Regions from separate parts of the Homo sapiens genome. Here region 1 is linked to region 2. The links are contacts of gene promoters, found by promoter capture Hi-C in human tissues and cell types (Jung and others, 2019). All regions are on one chromosome and are shown on one strand. The core of a region is centred on a gene start or on the middle of the fragment in contact, and the rest is flanking DNA. Distances in the headings are between cores, read along the strand shown.

The links. The method cuts DNA at HindIII sites, captures the fragments that hold promoters and counts their contacts. A contact is called where the count stands out against the background at its distance.
Region 1: the fragment with the promoter of SLC16A11 here is called in contact with the fragment with the promoter of DERL2 in region 2 in 1 of the 25 tissues and cell types used here (small bowel).

The regions. Positions count from the first base shown.
Region 1 is chr17:7,042,842-7,046,147 of GRCh38, forward strand. SLC16A11 (solute carrier family 16 member 11) reads right to left here and starts at 1,251. Exons shown (of 5, transcript NM_001370549.1): 1 at 934-1,251; 2 at 471-678; 3 at 89-232. The coding sequence starts at 672. It overlaps LOC124903909 (a long non-coding RNA gene), which reads left to right and starts at 226. Exons shown (of 2, transcript XR_007065598.1): 1 at 226-399. RefSeq lists silencers at 598-657, 728-857. The HindIII fragment of the contact is 14,065 bases long and covers 1-3,306 here.
Region 2 is chr17:5,484,678-5,487,966 of GRCh38, forward strand. DERL2 (derlin 2) reads right to left here and starts at 1,501. Exons shown (of 7, transcript NM_016041.5): 1 at 1,392-1,501; 2 at 474-539. The coding sequence starts at 1,484. It overlaps MIS12 (MIS12 kinetochore complex component), which reads left to right and starts at 1,889. Exons shown (of 3, transcript NM_001258217.2): 1 at 1,889-2,007. RefSeq lists enhancers at 1,159-1,338, 1,379-1,438, 2,059-2,158, 2,399-2,508 and silencers at 1,609-1,768, 1,718-1,885. The HindIII fragment of the contact is 19,817 bases long and covers 1-3,289 here.

The sequences.
Region 1 (3,306 bases), core at 1-2,500, 1.6 Mb after region 2:
GGCCCCCGCCTCGTTCGCTACCCCAGATCCCAACAAGCTCCTGTCACCTCCTTCACCCTGAATGACCCGGGCATCCCACTTCCCTCACCAGCGAGGAGGCCCAGGCCGAGGTAGAGATGCAGCAGATCGCTGGCGAAAGCCGAGAAGACGAAGCCCAGCGAGGCGAGGACGCCCCCAACCATCACCACGGGGCGGGCCCCCCAGCGCGTGCTCAGGGCGCTGCCCACGGGGCCTGAAAGGGGGCGGAGTCAACGGAAGACACGCCCCCGGGCCCCCAAACTCTCTCCAACACTTCTCATTGGCTGTTTGCCTCCCTCGAACTAATGGTTCTTCTCCTTGACCTCAAGATGCACTCTTTTCTAGAGCCGGTTGCCCTTTCTCAGGTTGTCGGGTAATCAGGTGGGTCTCCCATCCCTCCACTCACGGCTCCTCCTCCCCGTTCCTGTCTCCCGCCTCAGGGCCCCCCTCACTGGCTGCCTGCTGCACGGCCAGGGCCAGGGCGCTGATCCACGCAGTGTCCTGGGCGCTTCGGTCAAAGTGCTCGGCAAGGTCAGGGAAGGCAAGGCCCAGCGAGCGCAGCAGCCCGTAGGACAGCCCGTTTATCGCGAAGGCTGCGGCCGCCACCACCCAGCCCCAGCCCCCATCCGGGGGTCCGGCGGGCTGGGGGGTCATCGCCGTCTGCGGGGTGGGGAAACATCTGTGAGAGAAGCCTCCACGCCTGTGCTTCCGCTGGGGAGCTGGCATCCCTGAGATCCAGCCTCTGGCTGCTCGCCCGGGGTGGGCCCGTCACTCCGAGCGCGATGGCGCGGGGCGGAGGGAGCCGGAGCCTGGCCTAGGGCTGGAACTCCCGGGTCCGCGCGAGGTACGGGGACGGGGACAGCCAGATCCCCAGGCCCGAGGTTCCCCGTCCCACGCACACTCCTTCCCCCTTACCCGACCTCTCCGGGCGGTGCGGGGAGGGGAAGGGTGAGGAAGGGCTGGGCCCGGCTTTCTCTCTGCTTCCCAGGCGGGCGGGGGCCCCGAAGGGGAGCGAGGGCAGCGATGGAGCCCAACTTGGACGGGCTCTCTCGGTAAACAGAGATCACCACAGGGGCCTGAGCCACCTGGGACGCGGGGTGTACGGAGGGCGGGGGCGAGCTGAAACAGCCAATCCGGCAAGCCGCGCGTGAGGCCAGACGCCAGTCCCACGGGGATTGAATTATGTACACACACAACCCCCAGGCCCGGGGGAGGGGGGAGCGGCGAGAAATGAATGCAGAGGGGCCCTGCCCTACTCACACGCATGCACCTGCCGCCTGCTGCGCGCAGGGGAGACACGTGGATTGCAAACCCCAGCGAGCCCAGGGTCCACCGCCAACGCGTGGAAATAGGGATGGTCCCCAAAACCTGAGGGGATGAGTAGTTTTGTTCTCAGGAACGTTGCCGAGGACCAGGTAAATCTCGGATATCAATCAGATCACAGACCTCCACCAAGTGCCAGCTCTGTGCTTAGAATAACAGACCCCCAGGCCGGGCGCGGTGCAAGCCTGTAATCCCAGCACTTTGGGAGGCCGATGTGGGTGAATCACCTGACGTCAGGAGTTCGAGGCCAGCCTGACCAACATGGCGAAACACCATATCTACTAAAAATACAAAAAAAATTAGCCGGGTGTGGTGGCGGGCGCCTGTAGTCCCAGCTACTTGGGAGGCTGAGGCGGGGAATCGCTTGAACCCGGGAGGCAGAAGTTGCAGTGAGCCAAGATCATGCCACTGCACTCCAGCCTGGGTGACAGAGAAAGACTCTGTCTCAAAAATAAATAAATAAACAAAAATAAAATAAATAAAATAAAATAACAGGTCCTCAAGGACAGAGGGATGAAACACGACTCCCTCAATGTGAAGACCTGCAGTGTACCAGGCACCGTTTACACATGCTATCACTTCATCTTATGATAACCCTATGAAGAAGGTGTCGCTTTTCTTTTTTTTTTTTTTTAGATGGAGTTTCACTCTGTAGCCCAGGCTGGAGTACAGTGGCGAGATCTCGGCTCATTGCAACCTCTGCCTCCTAAGTTCAAGCCATTCTCCTGCCTCAGCCTCCTGAGTAGCTGGGATTACGGGCGCCTGCCACCACTCCCAGCTAATTTTTGTATTTTTTAGTAGAGATGGGGTTTCGCCATGTTGGCCAGGCTGGTCTGGAACTCCTGACCTCAGATGATCCGCCCACCTCGGCCTCCCAAAGTGCTGGGATTACAGGAGTGAGCCAACGCGCCTGGCCGATGTCGTGCCTCTTTTATAGATGCAGTAACTGAAGCTCTCAGGGAAAAAATGGTATGGATATTTGAATTTAGGTCTGTCCAACTGTGGACCTACAAGGAGAACAATCCCAGGACTGAAACAAAATCTGGCACAGTTAAGGGAAAGATCCTGGATACAGCTTGAAGCAAACTGCCCTGGAAAGGGTGGAACCATTGCAGGGACAGAAAACTTATGAGTCTAAAATAAGGGGTCACTGGGAATAGAAAGGATTCTTGAGATCAGAATCTCTAAACACTTAGGTTAGAATTTTATTTTTTATTATGTATGTATGTATGTATGTATGTATGTATGTATGTATGTATGTGTGTGTGTATTTATTTATAGAGACAGGGTCTTGTCCAGGCTGAAGTGTAGTACTGCCATTATGGCTCACTGCAGCCTCCACCTCCCAGGCTCAAGCAATACTCCACCTCAGCCTCCCGAGTAGCGAGGACTACAGGCTCCACACCACCATGCCTGGCTAAATTTGTTCATTTTTTTTGTAGAGAGGGGGTCACAGCATGTTGCACAGGCTGGTCTCAAGCTCCTGGACTTAAGCAATCCTTCCACCTCGGACTCCCAAAGTGCTGGGATTACAGTCTACCATGCCTGGCCAGGTTACAATTTTAAAAGCAAAGTAAAAAATCAGGTCATTGAAGCCAGGTATTGATTTTTTGAAAAACTTTATAGAAAATGTCCTTTTTTGATAGGTTGACATTCTTTACCTCAGCTCTTTGAATTCAGAGATGTGTTCTTTGGTTTAATTATTAAACAATATGATAGAACATTCAGCAACTTAAGTTTGGAGCATGCATCCATTGAGCCACATGATGGCAGTGTTTCCTAATTATTGGGAAAGAATCTGCACGTAAAGACAAGAAAAACAGCTTCTTAAGGAGCAAAACTGTAAACATAAAAGACACAGCATGACTATAGGCAATGGCTCTCCATTGCCTATAGACGGGAAAAATTACATTTCTCTATTTGTACAGGTCTTTTACAATAATCAAAGGTAGACCTAGGTTACCG
Region 2 (3,289 bases), core at 251-2,750:
ACTAACAGAATTGAGTTTCTGGACCATGGTGATAACACCAAGGTGGTGGGTGTGCCTAGGTGCTGAATGGACAAAATAAGGCCATCCCTGTGAGACAACCCCTAAGCAGCTAGCTAGTCAGCCTCCTCTCATAGGACAACGTTAAGTCTAAACCAGTGATTTCCAAATACAGGAACTGGACACATCAAAACGATGCAGGGAACTTTAAAAATAAAACACAGATTTTAATTCCTACCCTTGCAAATTCTGATTTGGTACTTGTTGAGGAGCTTGAGAATCTCTTCAAAGTTCCCTAAGGGATTCTCAAGTCCAACCAGGCTGCAGAATCACTGCTTTATATCCTGACAAGGCAACTTATAATCAAAGGTCCCCACTGGGTTCTTTTTTAGGATAGTGTATAACAGGATTTGCTACTAAACAGTAAGAAAAAGAAGAAACTGAAGCATTAATCACTATTGTGATGAACCACTTACTTGAAAGTGTTTAAAGATTAATTCAGGATTGAAGTACAACTGAAAAGGTGTGATCAATTCCAACTGCTGAAATAGAAAAAGAGCTTCTTAAAGCAAATCAAGAAACAAAATTTCATCATTTACAACAAAGAATTAGTAGGTCTAGCAATTTCCAACTCTCGGTCACTTAGACGTGATTTCCTTTAAGCCTTTCTTCTTAGGCCAGAGGAAGAGGTTGGTAAAGAATTCTCTAGGATTGGTAGAATTCTTTGTATCCTCAATACCTAACACAAAAAAGTCTGTTTTATGTTGCAATAGTTGAGGCTGACATGAAGAAATGAGGCAGACAGGTGGTGATATTTTAGACACAGGACAAATAAAAACAGCTGCTATGAATCTACCCACCACATGGGCACCACCTGAAACAGCTGTATGAAACAACAAAACTCACTTGAAATAACGGAGACTGGAGACCCTGCCACCGTTAGGGCTGGGTACCTCCAGCTAGCCCCTTATTTAGATCCAGAGACCCTTTTTATTATAAGCCATTCCCCTCTCGACAGTTTCCAGCTTGCTTTCCCCATTCCTGTTTCTTCACTAAACGGACCTTCCTCTCACTAGTCACCATGGTACCACCTGGCCATTGGCAGAGCTCTCGGACACATTTCTTGGGTGGGAGGCTCCCGCAACCCTAACCCGCTATAGGTCCGGCGCTCATCTCTTAGAAACTGACCTGACCCCCCATGAAGCAGCACTCCCTTCTCGCGTCACTGGATAAGCATTCTTGGCGCCAACTCGAACCCCAGAGTAATCCCTGTACGCCTCCACCCATCCCCGGGACCAGCCCCTCTGGGCCTCCCCGAGGCCCAAACCCCAGTTTCCTGAAGACCCAGTCATATCCAGCCCAGATAATGAGAAGGTGGCACTGCAGCTGCTCACCACGGCGGCGGTGGTGAGGACGCAGGCAGTGGTGTAGGCGCGGCTGACCGGTGGGATCTGCAGGTACTCCAGCCGCAAGCTCTGGTACGCCATCTTCCCCACCGTCGCCTGCCCCACCCCCCACCCACCCCATTTCCCCTTCCGCCAGCAGGCCCCGGCGGCGGGGCGGGCCCAAAGGCCCCCCGCCCACTTTAGTTTTCCCGCGACTGCCCAATCAACGCCAAGCAACCGCAATCCGTAGAGACCTAAGGAACGCACATCCGCCAATCACGAGTTGCGTCGCCACCGCCCCCCCCCAGCGCCCCATCTCCCCACCCTCTCTTCTCCACCAGCCAACGTCCGGGAAAAACGAGTAAGTACAGGTTCCTTCTGCCAATCCCCGCCGGCCACAGCTAACTTTCCCGCCCGGCCCCTTTCTGTCATAATTGAGGTGTCCACAACCAGCCAATCAGGAACGCGAGAGTATCCCGCGTTTGCTTTCGCTCGCCGAGGCGCGTATCAGTCGGAATTTTGGGGAGCCAACCGCGCCGTCTGTCCCTGGCAAGCCAGCGGCGGTTTAAAGGAGGTGGCGGGAAGCCTGTGTGTGCTTCAAATCGTCACCCTCATGGTCGCTCCGGTAAGTGCTGCGGGGCAGCATTTTCTCTGAGGAGGAGCGGGGACGGGCGAGACTGGCATAAGCGTCTTCGCGAGGGAGCAAGGCGGCCTGTGGGTCGGCCTCACCCCGGCCTCCGACCTGAAGATCCCAGCATGCAGCGCGGGCGCGGGGCCCGACGGAAGCCGGGAGCCGGCCGGAAGCAGTTCCTGCGCTCTGGCTTCTGGGTCCTGTCCTGCGCGATCGCGGGGTCTTAGACAGCTCAACTCGCCGAGATGACCTGGGCACCTCTGCGTTGAATCGGCAAATACTGATCAAGCCGCATTTATTCTGCTCTCAGGAACTCTAAGTCTAGCAGAGAAGATGAGGCGGTAGAAGTTCATCAGTCAGTGCCCGAAGAGAGGTCCTAATGGGAATTCGAAGAAAGGAGTTAATCAAGGAAGTGTATTTTTTTGTTGTTGTTTGAGATGGCGCCCACCTGTAATCCCAGCTACTTGGGAGGCTGAGCTAAGAGGATCACTTGAACTTAGGAGGCAGAGGTTGTAGCGAGCCGAGATCATACCACTGTACTCCAGCCTGGGCGAAAGAGTGACACTTTGTCTCAAACAACAACAACAACAAGAAAATTAGCCAGGCATGGTGGCCTGCACCTGTTGTCCCGGCTACTTGGGAGACTGAGGTGGGAGGATTGCTTGGGCGCGGGAGGTTGAGGCTGCAGTGATCTGTGATCGTGCCACTGCATTCCAGCCTGGGCGACAGAGCGACAACATGTCTCAAAAGAAAAAAAGAAAAACAGAAAGAAATCCTACCTTACATATACAGCCAAACAGTTATAACCACTCCATATTTAACCATTACAAACGTAAATTTTTATTTTATTTTATTTTTTGAGACAGAGTCTCGCTCTGTTGCCCAGGCTGGGGTGCAGTGGCACAATCTCGGCTCACCGCAACCTTCGCCTCTCGGGTTCCAGTGATTCTCCTGCCTCAGCCTCCCGAGTAGCTGGGATTGCAAGTATCCACCATCACGCCTGGGTAATTTTTGTATTTCTAGGAGAGATAGGGTTTCGCCATGTTGGCCAGGCTGGTCTCGAACTCCTGACCTCAGGTGATTCGTCCATCCGGCCTCCTAAAGTGCTGAGATTACAGGCATGAGCTATCGTGCTCAGCCTACAAACATAAATTCTTAAGATTGGCTGCATCTTATCTTCCCATAAGATTTGACTGTACTGCTTATTGCAAATTATTTCATAAAGTGCGTCCTAAATTCACCTGATAATTGAAGTAGCAGTTTGTTTTAGCTAATT